4 separate regions of the Homo sapiens genome follow, and regions 1, 3 and 4 are each linked to region 2. The links are contacts of gene promoters, found by promoter capture Hi-C in human tissues and cell types (Jung and others, 2019). All regions are on one chromosome and are shown on one strand. The core of a region is centred on a gene start or on the middle of the fragment in contact, and the rest is flanking DNA. Distances in the headings are between cores, read along the strand shown. Region 1 overlaps ARHGAP11A-SCG5 (ARHGAP11A-SCG5 readthrough). Region 2 holds the start of GREM1 (gremlin 1, DAN family BMP antagonist). Region 3 overlaps FMN1 (formin 1). Region 4 overlaps FMN1 (formin 1).

Region 1 (2,937 bases), core at 353-2,852, 83 kb after region 2:
TAAAATAAAGCAGTTCAGTGCTTAATCCTTTGTATTTAACCTTGTTTTGAAATAATACCCAAGCACATGGCAAATAAGTCACTAAGCATTTAATTCTAATAAAGTATTTGTGTTACAAGAAATAATTTTTAACATAAGAATGTCAAACATTTTCATATTTACATGTATAAGCATTTCCCAATTGTTGATAGAAAAATACATTGCCAATTCTAATATTTTCACTATTCAAACATGAACTTTTAATCTCTAGAACAGTAAATTAATTAATATGTTTTGCCATTAAAAAAGCAACTAAAGCAGGATTTTTAGGTAAAACTCTAACAGTAGTATGTAAATGTACCTTTCTTTGGTAACTTTTCATCAACATCTGGGCTAAAAAGCAAACCTGTTTTTACAGATTCAATTCGATTTTTTAAACTTTGTTGATTTGCAAGTCGCCAACCAACACTTTCATATCTATTGACACCAGAACATCCATTCTGTACAGAAAAAAAAAAGTTTTAGTTAAGAAATAAGCCTAGTTAATTCAAAATATAAAGACAGAATAATTTTTTGTAGTTATCAAAATCTTTAGCTGATTTAAAAAGGGATATATAATTGAGAAACAATTCTTAACAATGACAAACATTCTTGCCTGCTAATGAAAACTGTAATCATTTGATTTTGCTATTAGTTGATATTTTATGATCTATTTTTAAAACAGTCTCACATATTAATTAAAATAATTTCTGTGTGTGCTCTGACTCTGTGCTAGGGCCTGTTCACAAATAGTTGGGGCAGTGGGGTACCTAGACCAAAATCTTATCCTTATGTAATTTACATTCTATTTAGATGGGGAAATTTAGACTTAAGATAAACAGTAAATTATATTGCATAAATACAATATACAAGGTGAAAAGTGCTACGGAGAAAAGTAAAACAGAGTAAAAAGGATATGGAGTGGTGAAGAATGGAGGTTTAGTTTAAAATAGGGTGATGAGGAGATAATTTGTGAGTAAAACAAAACAAAGGTGAGAGCCATGAAGATTTAAGGGGGAAGAACACTACAGAAAGAGCAGAATGCCAGTGCAGTCTCTGAGACTGGAGCAGAGTGAGCAAGGGGGACTGGAGGAGAGCTCAGAAATGCAGCCTGAGAACAGATCACGTGAGGCCTTTGCAGGTCAACATGAGAACTCTGGCTTTTATTCAGAGTGAAACGAGGAGTCACTGGAGAGTTCTGAGCAGAAAACTACATAACCTAACAGATTTTAAAAGATAAATTTCAACTACAGAACTGCAGCAAGGGTAGGAGAAGGAAGAACTATTAACAGGAGTTTACTAGAGTAATCCAGCTGAGAGATGACAGAACTTAGAGAAAGTGGGAAAAGTAGTAATAGTGAGAACTGGTCAGTTTGGAGATACTCTAAAAGCAGAAGTTAGACAAGATTCTCTAATGGATTAGACATGGTGTCTCAGAGAAAGTGAGGAATCAAGGATTTGACCATGGTTTTTGGCTTAAGTGACTGGAAGAACGATTTGCCATAACTGAGATAGGGAAAACCACAGGTAAAAGTGTTGTTTGGTGCAGGGCATAGCAGCAGCAAAGAAATCCATCTGCTTGGGACAGGTTACATTTGAAATGCCTATTGGATTAGATATCCAAGTAGGAGAGTCAAAAAAGCAGATGTTAAGAGACAGCGGAGTCATTCAGAAGAGCATTTGGGACTAGAGAACATAAACTTGGAAGTTTTAAGTAAATACAGGTTGGGCATTCCAAATCTGAAAAGCCAAAGTTCTGGATGCTCCAAAAATCCAAAGCTTTTAAGTATTTGACATGATGTTCAAAGAAAATGCTCACTGGAGCATTCCAGACTTTCAGATTAGGGATGCTGAACTAGTAAAAATAATGTAAATATTCCAAAATCCCCCCCAAAAATGGGGAATCTGAAATACTTCTGGTCTCAAGCATTCTGGATAAGTGCTACTCAACCTGTATATAATGTTTAAAACTGATGATCACCTTGAGTGAGTGGAGAGAAAAAAGAGAAGTCCAAGGACTAAGCTTTGGGTACTCCAATGCAAGGAAATTTGATATCAACTCAAGTATAAGAGTTTTGGATAAAAAGAACAGAATGAGACAGTCACTGGAAGGAAGGTAGGGCTATGAGTGTTTTTTAGTATCAAGTTTATAGCGTTATGCTAATATAAAGATCAATAAAATGGTAAGAAACTTACTACTTCTCTGCCATTTTTCCCTAGATTGAATTTCAAACGCAGAGATCTTCGAACCTTTTCTTTATGGCTGATTTTAGGAGAAAAGCAGCCTGCTTTTCCTGATTCCACTCTAGAAGAAGTGGAATTAAAAATGTCAGTTTATAGTATAAACACCAGAGAAATACTTGAAATACGAAATTTGAAATAAAGTCCACAGCAAATCATATTGATAATAATTGGATGGATTAATAATTCTTTAAAAACAGTTCAACTTTAAGATACCATACATGAACACACTGCATTTGCATAAAAAATGATCTGCTAATCTTAAAAGTTAGTCAGTCAGTTATAACTCAGAATTGTTAGAATAGGCTAGCTTTTTAACCTAACAGGAATTTTTTTCTTTGTTTTTTATTTTTTGAGACAGGGTCTCACTCTGCGGCCCAGGCTGGAGTATAATGGCATAATCACTGCTCACTGTAGCCTTGACATCCCTGGGCTCAGATGATCCTCTCACCTCAGCCTCCCAGGTAGCTGGGACTACAGGCATGTGGCACCATGCCTGGCTAATTTTTGTACTTTTTAGTAGAGATGAGGTTTTGCCATGTTGCCCAGGCTGGTCTTGAACTCCTGAGCTCAAGTGCTCCACCCACCTCAGCCTCCCTAAGTGCTAGGATTACAGGCATAAGCCACCGTGCCCAGCCTCTAACAGGAAATTTTAAAATTACACCATCAACATAAAAT
Region 2 (2,723 bases), core at 40-2,539:
GCTGCGATCCGAAGGCAATGCCAAGCGAGAGCGGTGGCGCGTCTGTTCTTCCGGAGTCTGTAGTCTACAAATAACTCCGGCCAGCAAGGAGGTGACAGCCCCAATATACCTCCCACTCCCCTGCTATGGCCTTGCTCCGCAAGCTGTGGAGGGGCCAGCGGAGCCAGCCAGGCAGCGAGAGAGAACGAAAGACGCCCAGCTCGTTGCAGCCGCCAACCCGCCTCAGCCGCCAGTCCCTAGTCCTCAGGAGCTAGTGAGGCGCTGCAAGGCGAGGCTGGGGCCTCTAGAACACAGTTTAAGGGGTGCGCGCGGAAGTGGGAACCAGCCGGTGGCCGCTGCCCGGCGCCAGAACGTCTACCATTCAGCCCGGGCGTGCGCGGGGCGGGGAAGAGGCTGGAGTAGAGAAGCGAGCGCCCGCGAGTGCGTGGCCGGTCCGCGAGCGCGTGTGGTGTCTGCCTTGTGAGCACTGCGGGTTCGCTGGACCCCGCGGCCAGGGCCGCGCCCCGCACCGCAGCTGTCGGATTACCCACCGTTCGGTTTTCCGCTGTGGCTGAACACAGCGGCTCTGCCCTTGCCAGTCTCCATCTCACCTCGGGGATCGGCAAATGCACACATCATGGATTCTCCGGATGCTCCAACCCGCGGACTCCAATGGGCGCCCCAAGACGCCCCCAGACCCAGCGCGGCGCCCCAAGCACATGGGACCCTCTCAAGGCAACTCGCCGCGCAGTCAGCGGCCGACTAGCAGGTCCGGATGCTCCTGCGCTCTGGCGGCCTGGACTTCGCGCCCTCGCTAAGCGGGCGCGTCTGCCAGGCGCTGCTGCCACCAGCACCAGGAGCGTGTTCGGGGGCCTCCGGGAGGTGGAAACGGGATGTGGGGGTCATCCTGCCCGCTCCTGACAACTTTTTTTCCTACGTTTCCCTGCAGACCCAGAGCAGCGAGGTCACGGTGTCCGCGGCCTCAGCAGGAAGGACCCCGCGATGGTTCTTCACAATTCACCCCCGCGAACAACGCACCCGAGCCTGCGCGCACGGAGGGCTGCCGCGCGTGGAACTGAGCGGGTCCTGGGTTGGTTTGCGGCCCTCTTCCCTCCGCCCACTCACATCCCTGCCGGGTGCGTCCGCGCTCACCTGTCAGTGCGGCGGGTCCTCGGGGCCTGCGCTTTCGACGCGTGGCGCTGAGTGCGGCCGCGGCCAGAGCCGCCGGGGCTCGGCGCGGGGTCAGCGGGACCGAGAGTGACGCGGCGGCCGTGCACTGGGTCGCCCGGTCCGCGGAAGGCGCACCGAGTGCCAGGCATCGCGCCGTCTCCCGTTTAAATGCCGGCGGCAGAGCGCGGCGCCCGGGGCCGCGCCTCTCCATTGGCCAGGCGCCGCCGCCGCCGCCAGACCCGCTATCCGCCCCCTTTCCCGGTACTGCCCCCGCCCCCCGCACCCCTCCTGCTTCCCCGCGGGGTCCCCTCTCCGCCCGCCTCGCCTCTTTGTCTGCTCCCCCCGCCCGGGCCGGCTGGGAGAGGTCACCCCAGGGAACCGCGCCTGGAATGCACAGCAAATCACATTTTCCGCTCCCGTTGGAGAGGGAAGAGCGGGAGGAAATCCCCCCGGCTGGCGGCCCCTCATTCCTTCTCTGCCCCAGGTCTGGGCTTTCCCTGTCGGCCGCCCGGCATCGCCTGCGTTGGTCCCGCGCTCAGTAGCGGAGACTGCGCTGGGAAGAGCGAGATCTCCGTGGGATCGTGCCAGATTCGGCCATTCTTCCCCTCTGGAGGGAACGGGACTGCGGGATGCTCTGGTCGAGCGGCCGTCGTGGCTCCCCGGCGGCCCCGCCCGAGGCCCCCAACTTCGAGGGCGCTGACCCCGGCGCCCCCGTTAACCTGGCGGGCTCGCTGGCCGCCAGCAGGAGCCTGTCGCCAACATGACACCCTGCTCTCCTCGCCCGCCAAGGGTTCTTTCAGCCCAGATGCCGGCGGCCTCCCCTGTGAGTGTACAGAGGGGAGTCACGGGAGGAGAATAAAACTAAATGACCGTCAAAAGTCAAGGCTTCTGTTCCTAAATTATCTTAAGAGACAGAGAGAAAACAGCCACTGGGCGAGAGGGGTTTTCTGTAGCATATCAAAGACGAATAAGTCAGGAAAATAAAACGTTAGATGAGGAAGTAACTTCCCAGAAATTTAGGACAAAAACCTACCGACGTGTAAAACCAATGTCACATTCCGGATACCAAGTACATAAATAGTTTTCGAAAGATGAGCGAACACTTTCATTTGTTCTCTTAGCCTGAAAAATTGGTTCCTCAAAGAGGCCGTAAGTTTTGTGTGTTGAAGCTAAAGTCCGTGCAAAAATTAACACGTCTGCAAGATCTGCAGACCAGCTCCATCAGCCACGTCAAATGAAGACTTTGAAAAAGATTTGCTACAGAAGGAAATATGAAGGTGTCTGTATTGTCTAACGCGAAATAAACAAAACAATGAAATCCATCAAAAGATACTTACGAAACACCCGTAATTTAAGTACTTGACTAGGAAAACAAAACCAGACCAGAAAACAGCCTATTTTTTTTTTCTCTTTAGTCCGGCGTTAGGGGGAAGAAGCAAGAAACATCTACTAGATGCTGTTAGGAACGTGAAATAGATATTTTTAAATAAATGAAGCAAGAAGGACGTCTGCATTAGTATCCTTAAAATCTTAGTCCTCTCAATGTTTTGTTTGTGCAGATGGCAGTTTCTACA
Region 3 (2,790 bases), core at 287-2,786, 100 kb before region 2:
ATATACACCCTTCAGGTTGTATTGATGGATTTTGGTTGGAAGTCGTCTGCGTTTATCTTTAGGCATATCAGTTTTAAATGTTTAAATATCTGTAATTATTTTGTTTAACACTGATGTAGCTGGACTTATTATTCAGTCCACCATTTGAGATGGCAAAATCTTAAAAATACATCAAAGGCAGATTATTCTTGCCAGTCCTGTTTCAAGTATGCGAAAAATGGTAGGTAATACATTTACATTTTTAATTTCATTATATAAATGACATTAAACTAACCATAAAATAATTGCCAATAATAACAGCATTGTTTCACTGAGCTTCTATACATGACTGTGAGTCATTTTTCCTCGTCAAAATGAGAAGTGGTTTTTTTTCTTTCTTTTTTATAAAGTTAGATCCTAAATGCCCAACTTTTGACCATATTTTTCTTCTGCTTTGGAATTTTTTTCCTATCAGTCATTATATTTCTTTAGGAAACGTCTTTAAATTTTTTTGTGGGAAGGAACAAAGCTAGCAAAGAAACAGATGTGTCCCATATAAAATATGCAATAAATCTTGTCCCACAAATTCTTTGCTCTGAACTTTCTGACAGAAACTGTCAAATATCCACTTTAATTCAGGTATAAAATGTTCACTCCATGTCATGGCGCCAACCACCATATGCCAGAATAAAGTTAGTGACCAGCCATAAAAACAGCAGCATAAGCACCTTTGAAACGGTACAAGTCATCGTGGGTGAGAACGACCCATATAAATCCATAGGGAATTAATCTTGGCTTTGCTACTATCCTGCTGGGCATTTACAACAAGCTTCTACTCCCACACAGCAGAAGTAGTAATACTTTTTAAAAGGAGAGAGAAAATAAGAGAGCCGTATGTCCACCTAATAAGCTTGTTGGTTGGGGGGAAGGGGGTTGCATGGATCAGAAAGCAGTAGGTTTTCCTCCCCCTCCTCGGAGCTCTGGAATCCCCTTGAAGAGGCAGAGCTCAGCCTCAGTTGAACATGTGGGGTTCTTCTTCAGCTCGCCTTGCCTGCCTTCGCAGATCATGTGAAACCAATCTCCCTGAAGTGCAATCACAAGGAATGACTTCAGCTTCATAAATCATTGTTATCATCCCACAGGAGGAGGTAATGCTATGGTTTTTCTCCAGTAAAACATTTCAAGCCTCTGGTTTCATGAGCCTTTTTTTTTTTTTTTACTTTCTGAAATCAGCTTCGTGCCACTTGTACAATTAGCTTCAGGCTCCTGCGTACAGGAGATGGTGGCACTTCTCCAGTTTGCATAATATTTGAACATTTTACCCTCTCAGATTTCGAGGGAGATCTGTTTCCTACTGAATGCGTGCTTGTGTGTGTGGCTTGTCATATACACAGAGGCTTCACATTTGCTTCCAAGAATATACTGATCCTCAATATTTTTTGCATTAAGGGTATTTTCTTTATACTATATTTTTCAAATACAGAATAAGTAGTATATATTAGGTTTAAGCACAGGATAAAGAAATCTCAACTTACTTTGCAGTATTAGACACTATTTTAAAATGCACTGGTAGCCATGTAAAACATTTCTCTAAGGCGCAAAAATAGGAAGACTAAAGGGTGAAGCAATGGATGATTTCCAAGTTAAATCAAAAGATAAAAATCTGCCTTAATTCTATTTGGTAATATTTTAATAATCCTTCATAAACACTTCTTTCCTACAAGATCTCGTTTAGGAAGAACTGTCAAAAAATTATTCTGAAATGCTTTCATGAGTTTCTAGAAAATGTTTTGTTTGAATAGGTTCCATACTCACTTTGAAATAAAGGCTAATTTTTCAACAATTATTTTTAATAATTGTAAATTTAAATATAAATTCATTATAAAAGTATTCATTTAGAAGTTGACCTATACCTATACCTTTATGTTAAATAAAATGCAAGGGAAAAAATGAAAAAGCAAGAAAGGACATTACATTCAATATAATTTCAACTATATAACTAAAGCACAAATGAGTGTGTGATTATAAATATATACATTTATGAAATGAATCAGCATATTAATAGTGGCCATTGCTCAGAGAAAGTCTTATGCACTGCTTTTATTTTCTTATTTATATCTTTCTCAAATGTTCTACAATGAGGATTTATTACTTGTAAAATCTGGGGAAAATACAAAGGTTTGATAAAAAGCAGGGAAAAAGTGACCCACTGTAACATTCATTCTTATTGAATGTATTGTTAAATTGTTACCATATCAATGTGATTATTCAATGTTTGTACAAATTTTTCTTCAACAAAAGCTTTTTCTCTGAGGATGACAGTTATGATTGAAAGGTGACTCTGGAGGATTCCACCTGGAATTCTGATAAATTCACTGTCAGCACTTTCACCTTGACTTAGAAGCAGTGTGGTCACTTTAAAAACCAAGCCTCATTTCTTTATTTCCTTTTACTGGCTCTGATAATGATTGCTTCTGCTAATGGTTCATCTACTGGTGGAACAGATCAAATGTTCTTTAATGTGGAAAATATCTTCTGCAGCATCTTCTTTGGGAATCCCAGTTCTCTCAGCATTTTCTTTTCCTGCAAATATCACCCAAGAGACAGATTATGACCTTCATCACACCTAGATACTTGGTAACATCAGAGCTCTTGAAGTCATCGTGTTAATTCTTGGGTACCATTTCTAGTGGACCCGTTTTAAACCTCCAGCTATGACAAACCCTTGACCAAGTGAAATAAAAATGGGTTAAAAAGTAATTTGATGTTGTAAGCAATAGCCAATATTAGGGAAATTAGACTTTTGTCGGG
Region 4 (3,009 bases), core at 164-2,663, 83 kb before region 2:
TGCTGCCGTGCATTAGCTCTGTGGAGGGGAGTCATAAATTCTGGTTGTCAGCGTTTTCCGTGGCTTTGTGGTGAAGGTAGTCTAGCTTTCATGTCATACATGAAATATGTTAGATCCCATCTTTAATGTAGAAACCACAGTTGTTTGGTTATACTCTTTAAGGAGGTTGTGGTCAGTGTTGCAATATTTGTGTGAGATTAGTGAATTCTTATGTTTTATTCTCAAGAGAAACAATTTACTCTGAGGCTAAGGCATATTTGCTTTTCCTAAGCAGTTTCTGAAGGCATGCATGTAAGACAATAAGTGGATGTGTTCCGCTCTGGATCTCAGGACTGTAAAAGTAAAACAGTTCACTTCGCTACAGGCTCTTTGATGTAATCATTGTCTGTACTTTAAAAATGTTTGGCTGAATTAAAAAGATACAAATCAGACAGGGAATTATAGCAGAGAGAAAAGGGGTCAGGGACTAGTTTGCATGAAATGAAAAAGTTATATAAAACCAAACATAGGATTAGAAATCAATCTTCTAAAATTTGAGAGCCATTTTAGAGCTATCTGCTAACAAATAGAAATTTCAAATCGCATGATTGACCTTTGTTTCCTGTATATTAGAGAAAATTCTCCTGGTTGTTAAATATCAACAATTTTCTTGTCCAAATTGCAAAAGATTTTCAGTGGTCAATCTCTGTGAATCAAAACTGAATTTAAAATGGAGTTTTGTCTAGGAAAGACAACAGTCTAGGCCTTATCAAACCATTGCAGGTTCATATTCTAGCTTTTAGCATTTTCTTAAACAGTGGAATAACAATGAAATCAAATAAGGCACACTGGTTTTGTTTGTTTGTTTGTTTTTTGAGACGGAGTCTCATTCTGTCGCCCAGGCTGGATTGCAGTGGCGCAGTCTGGGCTCACTGCAAGCTCTGCCTCCCAGGTTCACGCCATTCTCCTGCCTCAGCTTCCTGAGTGGCTGGGCCTGCAGGTGCCTACCACCACGCCTGAATAATTTTTTTTTGTTTGTTTGTTTTTGTTTTTTTGTTTTTGTTTTTAGTAGAGATGGGGTTTCAGCATGTTAGCCAGGATGGTCTCGATCTCCTGACCTCGTGATGCACCCGCCTCGGCCTCCCAAAGTGCTAGGATTACAGGCGTGAGCCACTGTGCCCGGCCAAATAAGGCACATTCTTGAAGCGACTTTATCTTTGTCTAAGCTGCTGAGTGCCAAAGCCAGGCCATCCTCTGGGAGTCTGTGTACTTTGGTTCTTCTGAAGAGGTTCACTTGCTTTCTTAGTTTCCAAAACACATAAGAAAAAAAAGGCTGAAATTTAGTATTTTTTTTAGTGTTTCTCCCCCTTTCAGGGAGAGTAAGCAAGCAGTACCTCACAAATCCCCAGGGAGAGAGGCAAGGAGGGCAATGGTTAGCTTCAGTTTAGAGTTGGGAAAATCGAGGCCCACAGGAGGATGATGTGTTTTTCTCAGGCTGTGCAACAACCACCAAATCACTCTTGACATTCTCTGAAACTGCACCAGGATTTGCAATATGTTGATCTCACAATCTAGACTCCAGGTGATGCCAGAGGTGTCAGGTGTTCCATGAAGCACAATAACTGGACTTCACTATATTTTGCTGGAAAATCAGAAGATAAGTTGTCCCTCTAAATACTAGAAATGAAAGACTTTCCCTTCCCCATGAATGCTCAAATAAATATGTATCTGTATAGAAGGTAAGCATAAGAAAGAGAAAAAATAATCACATGCCCTCCCTGGGGTAATGCATGTTATGTGTGATACAGAGGAGGACACCTGTGTCTAAAGTAGAAAAGGGTGGGGTAGAACGACTATTTTGTCTCTTAAATGCCTGTGTTATTGAGCATGAGCAACAGAAAGATAAAGCAGACAGAGCATTTCACAGAAAATCAGGGGACCTGAATTCCAGGCCCAACCCTACCAGGGAATAATGCCACACAGTCTTTCCAGGTCTCTGTTTTGTCACCTATAAAATGATAATTTGGGCAAGTCATCCTGTAAATTCCTTCCCATTCTAAAGTCCTGTGACTTTGTAGGAAATGAATGGCCTGTTCCTATAGGTTATATAACTCTCTACTTATGTATTCCCATGCTATAGTCAAAATAATTTTCATTTGAGTGAAATAAAGTTACATGCTATAGAGTGTACATTTGGTTTTACCAGTGTTTGGACTGCCATGGAAATAAGGGTTATGTCTGGGGCAAGAGTGGACATTGCCACATTCTTCCCTTCCCGGTTTTTCTCAACATTATGTATGTTTGGAATTATAATAGAGTCCCTTAAGAGATTACTGCAGTTATTGCCTTTCTCCACTTACACATTTCCAGTCTTTTAATAACTGGGAGCCAAAATTCCCTGACCAGTAGTTTTAATTTGCATTAAAAACAGATTTATTCTTTACAGAAGCACAAAGAATTTATGGGACTCAGAGCTGCAGCTCCAGCTTGGATCTCGCCTAATCGTACCCATGGAATCAATTAACAGTTCATCTGTGAAATGTGATAAAATCTTATGAGATACATATTGCCCAATAACCGAGAATGAGATGAAAGTATGCTCCATAATAGTAACGGAGCTTCAGGGTTTTACAATCGCCATTGAATAGAGTTCCATTAGAAAATCAGTATTCAGGATGGCCACACACAAAAAAAAAACCACTGTGTCTGAACAGATGATAGAGCATTGAGTAATAAACCTGGCCAGCCATTCCTGCTTTGATTAGTTTCCAACACCCTAGAAAAGGGGGTCATTTATTTAAGTGTTCTTGCTCATGGCAAATGAGCTTGTGAGGCTTGGGGTAGGTGGGGGTGAGGGGGAAAGATTGAGTTCAAAGCTGTAAATTGCTGCAAAGCTAGTGCCTCCAAGAAGGGCTGCTTGGGAGGCCCAGGTAGTCTGGTGTGCAGTGAGCCTTGCTGGGATAGGTCTTACTGATATCTGGGAATCCACTCTGGAAAATTGGGATTCTTTACTGACCAGACTGGAGATCA

What was found. The method cuts DNA at HindIII sites, captures the fragments that hold promoters and counts their contacts. A contact is called where the count stands out against the background at its distance.
Region 1: a fragment that was not itself captured here is called in contact with the fragment with the promoter of GREM1 in region 2 in 4 of the 25 tissues and cell types used here (IMR-90 fibroblasts, lymphoblastoid cells, ovary and 1 more).
Region 3: a fragment that was not itself captured here is called in contact with the fragment with the promoter of GREM1 in region 2 in 7 of the 25 tissues and cell types used here (IMR-90 fibroblasts, adrenal gland, aorta and 4 more).
Region 4: a contact is called between a fragment that was not itself captured here and the fragment with the promoter of GREM1 in region 2, in 5 of the 25 tissues and cell types used here (H1 embryonic stem cells, IMR-90 fibroblasts, lymphoblastoid cells and 2 more).

The regions. Positions count from the first base shown.
Region 1 is chr15:32,633,319-32,636,255 of GRCh38, reverse strand. The region is part of intron 9 of ARHGAP11A-SCG5 (ARHGAP11A-SCG5 readthrough); the gene reads right to left. It overlaps ARHGAP11A (Rho GTPase activating protein 11A), which reads right to left. Exons shown (of 12, transcript NM_014783.6): 10 at 2,215-2,323; 11 at 341-479. Among named protein-coding and RNA genes, the nearest start is that of SCG5, 6.9 kb to the left of the region's middle. The HindIII fragment of the contact is 4,296 bases long and covers 1-2,937 here.
Region 2 is chr15:32,716,570-32,719,292 of GRCh38, reverse strand. It overlaps GREM1 (gremlin 1, DAN family BMP antagonist), which reads right to left and starts at 1,289. Exons shown (of 2, transcript NM_013372.7): 1 at 1,132-1,289. It overlaps GREM1-AS1 (GREM1 antisense RNA 1), which reads left to right and starts at 428. Exons shown (of 2, transcript NR_109767.1): 1 at 428-748; 2 at 929-1,192. RefSeq lists enhancers at 1-566, 567-1,145, 1,283-1,783. The HindIII fragment of the contact is 12,229 bases long and covers 1-2,723 here.
Region 3 is chr15:32,817,336-32,820,125 of GRCh38, reverse strand. The region is part of intron 17 of FMN1 (formin 1); the gene reads left to right. LOC107984089 (a long non-coding RNA gene) reads right to left here. Exons shown (of 3, transcript XR_002957769.2): 3 at 1-2,562. Among named protein-coding and RNA genes, the nearest start is that of GREM1-AS1, 100 kb to the right of the region's middle. The HindIII fragment of the contact is 3,457 bases long and covers 1-2,790 here.
Region 4 is chr15:32,799,640-32,802,648 of GRCh38, reverse strand. All of the region lies in intron 18 of FMN1 (formin 1), which reads left to right. The region is part of intron 1 of LOC107984089 (a long non-coding RNA gene); the gene reads right to left. Among named protein-coding and RNA genes, the nearest start is that of GREM1-AS1, 82 kb to the right of the region's middle. The HindIII fragment of the contact is 4,298 bases long and covers 1-3,009 here.